Linked DNA regions of Homo sapiens: all the other regions are linked to region 1. Evidence: promoter capture Hi-C in 16 types of primary human blood cells and fetal thymus (Javierre and others, 2016). All regions are on one chromosome and are shown on one strand. Each heading gives the region's core, a stretch centred on a gene start or on the middle of the fragment in contact. The rest is flanking DNA. Distances are from core to core; before and after follow the strand shown.

The links. Contacts are between HindIII fragments. The CHiCAGO score rates a contact against its expected background, and 5 or more counts as called.
Region 2: a contact is called between a fragment that was not itself captured here and the fragment with the promoter of NF2 in region 1, in 1 of 17 cell types (naive CD4 T cells). The highest score is 7.4, in naive CD4 T cells.
Region 3: a contact is called between a fragment that was not itself captured here and the fragment with the promoter of NF2 in region 1, in 1 of 17 cell types (M0 macrophages). The highest score is 5.1, in M0 macrophages.
Region 4: a fragment that was not itself captured here is called in contact with the fragment with the promoter of NF2 in region 1 in 1 of 17 cell types (total CD8 T cells); the score reaches 5.4 in total CD8 T cells.
Region 5: a contact is called between a fragment that was not itself captured here and the fragment with the promoter of NF2 in region 1, in 4 of 17 cell types (M1 macrophages, total CD4 T cells, neutrophils and 1 more). The highest score is 6.2, in M1 macrophages.

Annotation. Positions count from the first base shown.
Region 1 is chr22:29,602,303-29,605,097 of GRCh38, forward strand. It overlaps NF2 (NF2, moesin-ezrin-radixin like (MERLIN) tumor suppressor), which reads left to right and starts at 1,331. Exons shown (of 16, transcript NM_000268.4): 1 at 1,331-1,810. The coding sequence starts at 1,697. RefSeq lists an enhancer at 717-846 and a silencer at 1,097-1,676. The HindIII fragment of the contact is 9,228 bases long and covers 1-2,096 here.
Region 2 is chr22:30,099,875-30,102,669 of GRCh38, forward strand. The region is part of intron 3 of HORMAD2 (HORMA domain containing 2); the gene reads left to right. Among named protein-coding and RNA genes, the nearest start is that of HORMAD2, 21 kb to the left of the region's middle. The HindIII fragment of the contact is 7,543 bases long and covers 1-2,795 here.
Region 3 is chr22:30,042,447-30,045,241 of GRCh38, forward strand. All of the region lies in intron 2 of HORMAD2-AS1 (HORMAD2 and MTMR3 antisense RNA 1), which reads right to left. Among named protein-coding and RNA genes, the nearest start is that of HORMAD2-AS1, 36 kb to the right of the region's middle. The HindIII fragment of the contact is 4,004 bases long and covers 1-2,795 here.
Region 4 is chr22:30,014,523-30,017,317 of GRCh38, forward strand. MTMR3 (myotubularin related protein 3) reads left to right here. Exons shown (of 20, transcript NM_021090.4): 15 at 2,006-2,176. All of the region lies in intron 4 of HORMAD2-AS1 (HORMAD2 and MTMR3 antisense RNA 1), which reads right to left. Among named protein-coding and RNA genes, the nearest start is that of MIR6818, 8.9 kb to the left of the region's middle. The HindIII fragment of the contact is 2,319 bases long and covers 268-2,586 here.
Region 5 is chr22:29,994,686-29,997,480 of GRCh38, forward strand. All of the region lies in intron 7 of MTMR3 (myotubularin related protein 3), which reads left to right. Among named protein-coding and RNA genes, the nearest start is that of MIR6818, 11 kb to the right of the region's middle. The HindIII fragment of the contact is 2,391 bases long and covers 274-2,664 here.

The DNA.
Region 1 (2,795 bases), core at 81-2,580:
CCGCCCCATTGTACTCCAGCCTGGGCAACAAGAGCGAAACTCTGTCTCAAAACAAAAAACAAACGAAAAAACACAGTAAATTGTCCCTATTTGACTACTAAGAGCTATTTTAAAATAGAATTTATTATCTAAGTACAGAAAGGTGTAATTATCCCCCCTACACCCGTTAGAACCCTTGATGACACTAAATAAATAATACATGAATACGGTTCAAAAATGGGCATCATAGAGTATAAAATAAAGAATGCTTTCATTTTCAACCCAAATTCAGCAATTTCATAGGATGCCAGGCTCAGCTCTAAAGCCTTATATGTATTCAGTGCGCTGAAATTCAACAACCTCACGAGGTAGGTATAACCAATAATAATTCTAGGCGGGGCGTGGTGGCTCACGCCTGTAATCCTAGCACTTCGGGAGGCCGAGGCGGGCGGATCACCTGAGGTTCGAGACCAGCCTGACGAACATGGAGAAACCCCGTCTCTAATAAAAATACAAAATTAGCCGGGCGTGGTGACGCATACCTGTAATCCCAGCTACTCGGGAGGCTGACGCCGGAAAATCGCTTGAACCCGGGAGGCGGAGGTTGCAGTGAGCCGAGATCGCGCCACTGCACTCCAGCCTGGGCAACAAGAGCGAAACTCCGTCCCAATAATAATAATAATTAATAATAATAATAATAACAATAATAATAATAATTCTAAAGGGAAGCAGAGGGATCTGGCGGGAAAGTGCCAGCAAACCTAACAGGCCTCCACAAGTGTCTTTAAAGTTTCATAGGGGTCGGTATATGTGATTAACTGCCAAAGAAGAATATTCGCCGTGTGTCCGAAACGCAGTCCCCTGGGGCGCCACACTCGGAGCCTACTTGAACCGAAGAGTCCCTCCCTGGGCCAACGAAGGACCCAATTCCCCTCGCCCCGGATCCAGCCTCTAAGTGGTTTCCCGGGTAAGGTCAGCAGAGGTCCGCCGCCTCAACCAGTCTTGTTAGAGTAGGCACAAAAGCATTCAGAGTGACTGCCACTGTAGCCACTCAACGCCGAGCCTAGGCCTGCTTTTTTTGCAGTTAGAGTGAAACTTTCCATTGGTGGAGTCACCCCAAAGGAGGCGGGACGGAGCGGGAAAGTCCTGCCTACCTTGGCCTTCCCAGCCAATCGCAGCATCTATGCGTCAGCCTCCGGTTCGGTTGCGCTGCGCGTAGTGGTCTGGGCGACCTGAGGGCGGGGCCGGGAGCAGGCCCCGGGCTGTGGGGAGGGTGCGCTTCCCGCGGGCGCGCGGAGTGAGGACGGTGACAGCCACGCGCGCGCGTACGCGCCCGATGCAGCGCGGCCCCGTGACCCTAGTCGGCCGCTGAGAGGCGCGCGGAGTCTGGGCCGCTGCCGTCTAGGGGTCCCGTCCCGAGGCGTCCCCGGCATCTCCGGCCCGAATCCCGGAGTGCCGGGTCGCGCCTGCACCGAAGGTCCCGGCTCCTGTGCCCTCCCTGCAGCCGTCAGGGCCCGTCCCCCAACTCCCCTTTCCGCTCAGGCAGGGTCCTCGCGGCCCATGCTGGCCGCTGGGGACCCGCGCAGCCCAGACCGTTCCCGGGCCGGGCAGCCGGCCACCATGGTGGCCCTGAGGCCTGTGCAGCAACTCCAGGGGGGCTAAAGGGCTCAGAGTGCAGGCCGTGGGGCGCGAGGGTCCCGGGCCTGAGCCCCGCGCCATGGCCGGGGCCATCGCTTCCCGCATGAGCTTCAGCTCTCTCAAGAGGAAGCAACCCAAGACGTTCACCGTGAGGATCGTCACCATGGACGCCGAGATGGAGTTCAATTGCGAGGTAACCGGCCGGCAGCCCCGACTGCTGCGGTGACAGTCGAGGTGGAAGCTCGAGAGGTTCTCTTTATATCATCTTATGGGTGTAGCTAGAGACGGGCAGAACCGGAAGGGCCAACTAGGCCCAAAACCTCATGTTAAAGATGATTGCTGCTTTTTTTCATAGGACTTTTGGGTTTTGGCATTTCCTGAAGGTTATTTTCATTCATTGTTATTGGAAGAAGCTGGATGCTCCTGTGATAGAAAATTCAGGATTTCAGTGTCAGGCTTAAGTTAGGCTTACGCTTAAAAGCTTGAAAGTTTATTCTTTCATTAGGTAATATTGTTATGTACCCAGGTATTAGAAGTTGCGTCTTGTTTATTGGAAAGCCAATACTTGTTTCCCTTTTCTAAAGCTTGCATATTCTGGGAAAAAAAACCCTTTGAAGAACGATATAACATCTCATACTTACTTTCCACATAGTTTCCAACATGATGATAACAGCTATCAATTGTTCAGTATTTTCAAAGTGCTAGACATTTGCACATTTAATCCTCAGAACAAACCCATTTATCTAGTAAATGGCAAGGTGGGGTTTTGAACCAAGCTCACAGCCCGTACAGTACTGCTTCTCAAGTAATTTAAGTTCTTGCTGCTAAAAGTGTGGTTTGTGGACCAGCAGCATTGGCAGCAGTAAGCAAGGGTTGGCATGCTTTTTCTGTACAGGACCACATAGTAAATATTTTCAACTTTGTAGACTAGAGAATCTCTGTTGGAGTTATTCAACTCTTCAACTCTACCATTGTAACACAAAAGCAGCCTTAGATAAGATCAGCTTCCAGCATGACAGCTTAAGGAACCCATTCCTCTGTAAAACTGGTGAAAATTCTTTTTTGTTTTGTTTCGTTTTGAGACAGAATCTCACTCTGTCACCGAGGCTGGCATGCAGTAGTGTGATCATGGCTTACTGCAACCCTGACCAACCTCCCTGGCTCAATCAGTCCTCCTG
Region 2 (2,795 bases), core at 158-2,657, 500 kb after region 1:
AAAACTTCATCTCAGAAAAACAAACAAAAACAAAAACAAAAACAAAAAACCCAAGTACCTAGGACTCAACAAGTTTTCAAAAATCTTATTTGTTTAAAAAGCTGGATTGTGTATCATGAAAATGGCCATACTGCCCAAAGTAAATTATAGATTCAATGTTATTCCCATCAAGCTACCATTGACTTTCTTCACAGAATTAGAAGAAACTACTTTAAATTTCATATGGAACCAAAAAGGAGCCCATATAGCCAAGAAAATCCTAAGCAAAAAGAACAAAGCTGGAGGCATCATGCTACCTGACTTCAAATTATGCTACAAGGCTACAGTAACCAAAACAGCATGGTACTGCTACCAAAATAGATATATAGACCAATGGAACAGAACAGAGGCCTCAGAAATAACACCACACATCTACAACCATCTGATCTTTGACAAACCTGACAAAAACAAGCATTGAGTAAAGGATTCCCTATTTAATAAATGGTGCTGGGAAAACTGGCTAGCCATACGCAGAAAACCGAAACTGGACCCCTTCCTTACACCTTATACAAAAATTAATTCAAGATGGATTAAAGACTTAAATGTAATACCTAAAACCATAAAAACCCTAGAAGAAAACCTAGGCAGTACCATTCAGGCCATAGGCATGGGCAAAGACTTCATGACTAAAGCACCAAAAGCAATTGCAACAAAAGCCAAAATAGACAAATGGGAACTAATTAAACCAAAGAGCTTCTGCACAGCAAAAGAAATTGTCATCAGAGTGAACAGGAAACATACAGAATGGGAGAAAATGTTTCCAATCTATCCATCTGACAAAGGTTTAATATCCAGAATCTACAAGGAACTTAAAACAAATTTACAAGAATAAAACAACCCCATCAAAAAGTGGGCAAAGGATATGAACAGACACTTCTCAAAAGAAGACATTTATGCAGCCAACAAACATATGAAAAAAAGCTCATCATCACTGGTCGTTAGAGAGATGCAAATCAAAACCACAATGAGATACCATCTCATGCCAGTTAGAACGGAAATCACTAAAAAGTCAGGAAACAACAGATGCTGGAGAGAATGTAGAGAAATAGGAATGCTTTTACACTGTTGGTGGGAGTGTAAATTAGTTCAACCATTGTGGAAGACAGTGTGGCAATTCCTCAAGGATATAGAACCAGAAATACCATTTGACCAAGTAATCCCATTACTGGGTATATATCCAAAGTATTATAAATCATTCTATTATAAAGACACATGCACACATATGTTTATTGCAGCACTATTTACAATAGCAAAGACTTGGAACCAACCCAAATGCCCATCAATGATAGACTGGATAAAGAAAATGTGGCACATATACATCATAGAAAACTATGTACCCATGAAAAATAATTAGTTCATGTCCTTTGTAGGAACATGGATGATGCTGGAAACCATCATTCTCAGCAAACTAACACAGGAACAGAAAACCTGTGTTATGTATGTTCTCACTCATAAGTGGGAGTTGAACAATGAGAACACATGGAAACAGGAAGGGGAACATCACACACTGGAGCCTGTAGGGGGGTGGGGGGCAAGGGAAGGAATAGCATTAGGACAAATACCTAATGCATGTGGGGCTTAAAACCTAGATGATGGGTTGATGGTTGCAACAAACCACCATGGCACATGAACAAACCTGCACTTTCTGCACATGTATTCCAGAACTTAAAGTATTAAAAAAAAAAAAAGCTGGATTGTGAATCTTGTTGACTTGTCACTAAAATAGGAACTGTCATTTGGAAAATAAACATAGAGAGCTACAAGTTGCCTTGTAAGATGTTATTTTTCAAAATCTAATTTTAAATTTCTTACATCTGTATTTAATGATATACCTTGGCCTCATTTCAGTCTAATTCTCTTGGTTGGGCATGGTGGCTCAGGCTTGTAATCCAAAGTGTAACCATAACACTTTGAAAGGCAAGGTGGGCAGACTGCTTGAGCCTAGGAATCCAAGACCAGCCTGAACAACACGGTGAAACCCTGTCTCTATAAAAAATACAAAAAATTAGCTGGCCATGGTGGTGAGTGCCTGTAATTCCAGCTACTCTGGAGGCTGAGGTGGGAGGATCATCTGAGCCTGGGGGGTTAAGGCTACAGTGAGCTGTGATTGCACCACTGAATTCCAGCTTGAGTGATACAGTGAGACTCTGTCTCAAAAAAAAAAATTATCTTAAGTAATGTAAGAGCATCAATAAAATGCATGTGTGCTATAAGCACATAAACATGATATTTGCAATCATGACAACCTCATTTGTATTATGACATCTTTTGGTCTATGAGATACAAACTTGTAATAGTGAATGTGTTTATATCTAACATATATTTGTAATTTTCCCTCTTGTCTAGAACATAGAATTGAGAAAGACATATTTTTGATAATAAGCACATATTGTGTGCCAGTCACTACCCTAGGCAACGGCAATGATACCATTCCCTATAGCTTTATTTTTTGTGACAGTTATTGTGGAAGTTTTATGTCTCCCTTTCAATGTTTGTTCTTAAAGTAATATACATCATAAAAATGCTTAATACTCCTGTGTCACTCTCTTGTAATTTCTGAATGTTATATCAACATGGGATAATTTTCATATCCCTCAATAGAGATACAGGTAACATCAATTTTAGTATAGGAAAACAATACGAAAAGGTGAAGTTGCTTATGCAAAATCACACATAAATCAGTGATTGATCTTGGACTACTTTAAACCAAAACTCTATTTATTTATTTTGAGAGGGAGTCTCATTTCATTGTCCGG
Region 3 (2,795 bases), core at 181-2,680, 440 kb after region 1:
TGGACTTAGGGGGGGATCAGTCAGAGACAACTCGCAGCTTCGGCCTTGATCAACTAGGAGGACTGATTCACATTCACCAAGATGAAGAAACGGGAAGAGCAGATTTGGAGGGAAAAAGGTCATTCATCTAAATTTGATACATTCTACTTCAGTTAAAAAAAAAAAAAAGAAAGAAATGGGTTGATTGAAAACAAAACAAGATGATTCCATGCCTAGAACTCCCGCTCTGTGCCACCCCTCCTTCAATCTCAGCATTCTCACACCCTTCGCCCTGCTTCCTTCCAGCGTCCTCATGTATACGTGTACCTCTGATCCTTGGGCCCTCCAATATCCAGTGCCAAGCAGATTGCATTTCAGAGAACCACCTAGACGACACTGTCCTTGGCCACACCATTCACCACCTCACCCGTGCTTTCTCCTGACCTTCTCAGGGTGGAGTTCCCTTGGTCTTTCTAGTCCTGAGACCATTCTCTGTGTGCAGAGCTGGCTTCATAGGTGTGCAGCCTCTGCAGTTACACACGACCCCACACTCAGAAGGGCCCACCTTCCGTTTAATGCTCCTCTGTTGCAGTCTTGAAATTACTAACATTAAACAAAGGACCCCACACTTTCATTTTTCACTAGGTCCCTCCCACAAATTATATAGTCGGTCCTGTATGTATGTCTGCAACATAATGAGGCAAACCAACGTGCGGCAGCCTTTCCCATCCGTGGCAGTGAACCTCATTTCCATCTAGGAAGTCCAACTTCTTCAAATCACAGGGAGACAAAGCAAAAAAAGGAGCTCAATTTTTTTTGTTTCTATGAAATACAGTTTTATGTGTAGTTTTATGTTTCTTCCTGATAATAATTTAGGAGGGAACCCTGAGGAACAGGATACAGAAATAACAAATTATGGGCCATTAACTGTGGCTAATTATTTCTTTATAGCTTAGAGTGGAGGCACATCTGAGTTGCTTTGGCACTCACAGTTACAGGAAGGGAGGGAGGGCAGCTTAAATACAATATAGAACCCGTGGGGAGACGAAGGGAGGAGCAATTTATTGCAGGTTCGGCATCCCCAATCCAGAATCTGAAACGTTTTGAGAACTGACATGCTCAAAGGAAATGTTCACTGGAGCATTTTGGATTTCAGATTTTCAGATTAGGGATGCTGAACTATTAAGGATAATGCAAATATTCCAAAATCCGAAAAAATAAAAAATCCAAAACACTTCTGGTCCCAGCATTTTGGATAAGGGACATTCAACCTGTAATCTCAGCCTAGCTTCTGAAGCATAAAAGCATAGCAGCAGACAAACATGCAAATAAACTTATGTCCAACCCAAAAGTCTAATATCTGGTTTGACTTTGTGGAAGAAAAGGATTTCCTGTTTCACAGAATCCTTTTGTTCCTTGCCCTTTTTACCCAGAGAGAGAGAGAGCTGCTTAGCATAAGTCATGGAAGGATGGCTGGGGACTATCAGAACCCTCAAGAGAAAGGTTTGTTGGTCTGGTTTATGCTGTATTTAGGAGAAGGCCCAGGACTGTTACTACAGTCAAGACTGGAACGAGGACTCAGGGCAGGGGTGGGGTGGGTAGTGGATGGAGAAAGAGGAGAGTAACCAGGAAGAGAAATGGGTACCCAGGTATCCTCTGAGGGTGACTCGAAAGAGAGATCAAAAAGCAACTGACTGTGAAAGTCAGGAATCACTTTTGCCATCACCGGAATCCATGAATGTTGAAGATCGACTGAGCAGGCTGTTTTCTTTCTGGTGATGGACAGTTCCTTCTAGATGCAGCAGAGGTACAATTCCATACTGTAATATGTTGGATAATGAGCCTTCAACTGGGTCTAAAATTAGGACTTTGACACACAAGAAAAATGTCTTCAGGCTTCAGGTTTTTGTTATCTGGTTTCTTTTGGATACTTTTAGCTCTTCGTCTATCCTCCAGAAAAGACCAAGCTGACCCACTCATTGTCAGCACAAAGAATGCTGTAAGGGTCACTGAAGACAAATCGTGCTGGTTTGGGAATAAGAAAAAAGAAGACAAACTCCTCTTGCCACAACTATGTGCTAGCCTAGAAGTGCACTTTAGTCATTTATTACCTCATTTGAATTGATCTATCATATGATCAACATGACTCACCGGTGCCTAGAGACTCTCTAACTTGTTTTTCCTGGCCCTGTGCCCTACTCAATACCCCACACCCCAGATTTACTCCTTATTACAGCTGGCTTGTGGGAAATGGGACTGGCCTGGGGTTCTCAAGAGTGGGCTGAGCTACCTCTCCAGTAGTGCTCTCGAAAGTGGCTATTGTTTCTGAACTGAGAGCTCTGCAATGAGCAGACACTGCATGGACTGTTCTTCTGAAGATTTAATTCCACATATATAGACATTGCCCAAGAAGGCTCTTCCTTTAGCATGGTTTGTATGCTCATGTTCCAGTCTTCTTATTTCCTACCTGGAGAACTCTTGCTCTTCATTGATCCATTAATTCTTGGTGTGCCAATTTGTGTTTCAGCTGTGCCAAAATGAAGGATCGGGATTATCTTCTAAACAAAAAGAATGACCTCCTTCTCCTGCGTCTAGGCCCTAAGGCATTTCCCTGCTCACTAATGGGATTAAGAATATTTTCATATGTTTATTGGCCATTGTGAATTTTTCTTTTTTCTTTTTTTTCTCTTCTTACAAACAGATGTTTTATTGCATTTGGTCCACAGTCGTATTTCACATTATCTCATGGAGCAGGGCCCCTGGGTGTGGGTCCCTGTGCAGTACTTGGTGGGGCATGTGGCCAGGGGAGATGGAGC
Region 4 (2,795 bases), core at 177-2,676, 410 kb after region 1:
TTTTCAGATAGTATCTTGCTGTGTCACCCAAGCTGGAGTGCAGCAGTGTGATCATAACTCACTGCATCCTCAAACTTCTGGGATCAAGAGATTCTCCCACCTCAGCCTCCCCAGTAGCTGGGACCACAGGCACATGCCAAGATGCCTGGCTAGTTTTTAAAAATTTTTTGTAAATAGACATGGAGTCTCGCTATGTTGCCCAGGCTGGTCTCAAACCTCCTGGCAAGTGATTCTCCCGCCTTGGTTGCCCAAAGAATTACAGGCGTAAGCTTCGACACCTAGCCTCCTCTCCCCAGTTCTAAATGTTGGAATGCCCCCTTGCTCAGCCTCCAGGCTGCTCCTCCATCCACACTTCCAAGTATTTCATCCATTCTAGTGGCTTTAATTGCCATCTGTATGCTGATGAGTCCCACATTTATACACCTTCAGCTTAGACCTCTCCACTTCAGACTCACGTATCTAAGTTACTACTAGGTATCTCCACTTGGCTGTCTTAATGTTGATTCAGACTTAATAAATTCAAAACTTGATGCTTCTTTTTGGAGACAGCATCTCACTCTGTCACCCAGGCTGGAGTACAGTGGCGCAAACACAGCCCACTGCAGCCTTGAACTCCCAGGGTCAAGTGATCTTCTCACCTTAGCCCCCTGAGTAGCTAGGACTGCAGGTGCGTACCACTGTGCCTGGCTGATGTTTTTAATTTTTTTTTTTTTTTTAAGAGATGGGGTCTTGCTTTGTTGCCCAGGCAGGTCTCAAACACCTGGGCTCAAACAATATCCTCCCACCCCGGCCTTCCAAAATGCTGGTATTAACAGGCATGAGTCACCATGCCTGTCCAAAACTTGATTCTTGATTCCTGTGTTTCCTCACTATAAAACTTGATCTTCCAGAAGTCTTCTCTCTCACCATATGGCATTTCCATCCCTCCTTTTGTTTGGGGCAAAATTCTTTGTCATCGTCAAGTCTCCTCCCTCCCTCCCTCCCTCCCTCCTTCCCTCCCTCCCTCTTCCACATTCAGTCAGATTCTGCAGCTCTGCTTTCGCAATCTATCTAAAACCTGGTTATTTATTGCCACCTTTACTGGTACCACACTGGTTCAAGCCACCATCATCTCCTGCCCCAATTGAGTTATCCCAGCATAGAGTCTCTTCTAAAACACAAGGCAGGCTGTGTCATTCCTTGGCTTAAAAACCTCTAGTTACATTTTACACAAAAGCCAAAGTTCTTAAAATGGTCTCCAGGGCCTTCCTAGAGGTTACCTCTCTAGGTTCATTTCCTACCATTCTCCCTCTTCTGCAATCTCCTTTAGTCACACTGGCCTCCTTGCTGTAGCTCAGAAATTGCAAGCATGTGCTTTACCTCAAAGCCATTGCACCTGTGGTTGCCTCTGCCTGGAGTGCTTCCCCTCAGATACCCACATGCCTGCTCTTTCAAGTCCACTGGGTCCCAGCCAGTGAGGCCATCCTGCACTGCCTCATATGTGTCCTGTCCATCTCAGTCTGCCTTGTTCTCCATAGCACTGGTCACTCTTCAGCTATGACTAGAGCAAGCTCCATCAGGGCAGAAGAATTTGCTGGTCATTGCTACATGCCCAGCACCTTAGTCATGTTTGGGCCATGTGAAATGCTCAATAATTTGTAGAATGAACAAGTAGTTTTACAAACATACTGTCAGCTCAGACTTGAGTTGTACACTGACGTGCTCCTGCACCCAGTTCATATGCTGTGGCGCTTGTGAGAGTGGCTGTTAATTCACAATCTCAGACTATTTATCACGGAAGCTAAGAGGAATAGGGGCACCAACAACCTGTCTGACTCAGGTTGTTGGGTCCTGGAATTGGTGGTGTGAGGAGGAGGAGGCTACTGCATGGCTTACTGGGTTCCCCGTCCTGACAGAGTAAATTGAAGTGTTCTCAGGGATGTTAGGATAAGGTGGCTCAGCTGAGCTGACTTATCAGAGTGTGCATGCCTGATTGCTTAATTTGTGCTTCATTGGACTTCCATAGGTGAAACTGGTGCAGCATACCTATTCCTGCCTGTTTGGAACATTCCTGTGCAACAACGCCAAGGAGAGAGGGGAAAAGCATACTCAGGAACGGACATGTTCCGTGTGGTCACTTCTTCGGGCAGGCAACAAGGCTTTCAAAAACCTACTGTATTCCTCTCAGTCAGAAGCCGTATGTATCCTTCAGCCTTTCCACTGTGGTCAGCAGAAGGAATTTGGGGTTGGTTACATATGAGAGCCTTTTTGAGTAGTGACTGTTTTTGTGAAGACATCTCTACTGTCTCTGGATGGACTGGTTCCATTTTTCCCCCATGATTCTGTCCTGAGGAAGGCCTGCTTCTGATGGTGCTCTGATCTGTTTCTGATGACTACTTGCTGAGGGTGGTTTGGTTTAACACAGATCTCTACTTTGCCACCCTAGACATGAATCTTTTTTGGCACTGCCTCCAGAGCTTATTTCTAGCATATTCTGTCTTACGGGAGAGGCACTTAAGTTGCTTCCTGATGCACTGATAGCTCAGAATGAGCTGCCACCAGGCCCCCAGCACCCTCCCAGTGTCAATAAGCAATGATACCCACCAAAGCTTCTGTCTCAGAACAGTAAACTGTGTTTGACATTGGTATGTGTGTCTGTCTGATTCTCTGCTCACATGAAGAGCTGGCAGGCCCTTTAAGACTTTGTTCCCCGAAGGAATGAATACCTTCTGTTAAGCAGAGAAAAGGAGGCACATAGACCTATGTGTCAGTTTCATAGTAATACTAGCTTTGTCAGAATGCATCTTAGACCCTAA
Region 5 (2,795 bases), core at 219-2,718, 390 kb after region 1:
CCTAGCCTGCTAGAAGTAGAATGTATCAGAGAGGAGAGAAATGAGAAAATTACATAATTGTCTTAGTATTCATATAAATCTTAGTTTCTGGCTGTTGAACCGGTCATAGTTAAGCCGGCTGTACTGTGGTCACAGCTCTAAGGCTTAATCAGCTTTGGAAGAAGTTTCAACATTGCTGTTGGAGTTTACCTGTGAAACCTGCAGAAGCCTTTGCCAAATTCTTGACCCTTCTCTTAGCCCCTCAAACTCTAAAAAAGTGGACTGAAAGCTAAAAGCTTCTCTCCCATGTCCTTAACTTCCTGCTCCTCATTGCAATTGACTTGTTGGTGATGGCTCTGTACTAGAGTGTTAATCTGGAGGCCTGACAGATGACTGGGCAGCTTAGCTGCCAGTTTAGTAGCATCAGGCCTACCTCTCTAACCTCTCTCATGTGAAATGTCCCTTAAGCCCATCTTGTTTATCCACGACTAGCATATGACTCTGGGTCTTAACACTGCTGTGAAGCTGCCTATTTATCTGTCTTCCGGGTTTGAATGCAGTCCAGGAAGTTGCATCTAGAGGATTTACTGTGACCTTTGTACATAGAAAAGCATAATTCCTTTCTCCGTATTTGAAAATCTGCTAAGAGGTAGTTCTTACCTTCTCTGACTCTGGTATTGGTCTGCTTCCTCACCTGCCAGGTAAAGGCCTGTCCCTTCTGTCCCAGGCCTTTTAAGCTGTGTGTAATTGTGGGCTTGACTACTCAGGATCAGCCAGGGAGCTAGACTTTTGGGGGAAAATTTTTTAGATTGCTGATTGACACTGTGTTTGTGATAGAGGGAGTTAGGGAACTTCATTGCTTTTAAAAAGAAAGTTTTCATTTCCACTAAAGTGAAAATTGCTGGACTGTATTATTTTTATTATAAGAAACACTAAATGCTGAAAAGGGACAAAGGCAGATAGGAAGGGTTGAAATGGAAATATAAAGCCAAACAAAAACCTTATAGCCCCAGTATTTAAAGAAAGTTGGGATATCACAATGTATTTAATGTTGAATTGATTGAGACCTGAGAATTCTGAGATGGAGATTTTTAAGGGGAATCCAGCAATAGATCTGTTTGTGTTTATTTTTCTGGCTAAGTAAACGTGAGTGAACATCTCACACAATTTGCAAAAGCTGGTTGAATTCCTGATGTATGTAATGATGTGGTTTTCAAATAGGTTATGATCCAGTAGTGGGTCATGAAATCTAATTTTAAAGAAATGGAATAGAAAATATCAAATTGTGTCACACACATATTAAGAGTGGGTATTGTTTTGTGAAATGCTTTCAAAAAAATAATGTATGTTGTATTAGCTGGGCACAGTGTCTACCTATAGTCCTAGCTATTCAAGAGGCTGAGGTGGGAAGATTGTTTGAGTTTAGGAGTTCAAATCCAGCTTAGGCAACAGAGGGAAAACCCGGTCTCTCAAAAACTGAATAAATTAAAACATGTTTGTTGTATTGTGTTGTAAAACATAATTCTTATTGTGGGTTGTGATGGTCAGTTTCAGAGTTTATGAAGTCACTGCCTTAGAGGATATAAAAATAATTAAAACTCATTCCCATTCCCAAAGAACTCGAAATAACAGATTTTCTATACCTGCTAGTCAGTATATATTTCTGCGTATAGCTCAGAATGTTGTGCTCTGGATGGTGGTTCTAAGTCCTTCTTTGGGGAAATGGTTCTATGAAGTAAATTGCTAGTGATAGTGATTGTTACTGTTATTATTTTGCCAGTGGTTATTTTTAAATCACAAGATCCTTTAAGGGTATCTATGTGTTTTATCCTGAGATAGAGGTGTTAATGTAAAAGATCATTAATGTACAGTTCAAGAAAAGCACAAAAAAAATAAATCATTAATGAAATACTTACAGCTTTTGCAAAGACTTGGAGCTATATCCCAGAGTCGGGGGAAAAAATCTCTTAATGAACTTGGAATTTGCCACAGTTTTGCAGCTTTTAGATTGGGATTATGAATTAAAGACTCCTTGTCTGTTTTTTTTGTTCGTTTTGTTTTGTTTTTTTCCCCTTTTTTTGAGACAGGGTCTCACTCTGTTGCCCAGGCTGGAGTGCAATGGTGTGATGATGGCTCACTGCAGCCTCAACTTCCCTAGGTTCAGGTGATCCTCCCACCTCAGCCTCTCAAGTAGCTGGGACTATAGGCATGGACCACCACAACTTAATTTTTGCATTTTTGTGGAGATGGGGTTGCCCATGGGGTTGACCAGATGTTGCCCAGGCTGGTCTTGAACTCCTGGGCTCAAGCAATCTGCCTGCATCAGCCTCCCAAAGTGCTGGGATTACAGGTGTGAGGCACCGCGTCTGGCCTAGTATTCTTGATGGTCAATATTCCTTGCAATTTGTAGACAGATGGCACCCCAATTCAGATAGTTTTTTCCTGTTTGGAAGCCTGCTACATTGCTTCTAAAACTTTTCCAAAATGGGATGGATTTAGTTTTTATTTCTTCTTGCACCTCATATTCTCTCAACCTCATCTTTTTATAGCTCTCCTTCAGGAAATGTATAATACCTAGCTTGAGCTCAAGAAAAGCAGTTTAAATGGGAAGTAGTTTAACAGAATTGTCTTCCATCCAAGTAATTGCTGTTTCCTATTCTGTAGCTCCTCTCCCAGGGAGAACAAAGCTTTATACTCTGAACACTAAAGTGAAATCTGTTTTGTGCTTTTGTTGTTGTGGTTTCTTCCAGCCCTGCTAGCACTTATTTTACAACCTGTACCACTATATATTAGAGGTTCTGCTTAATATTTTTTAA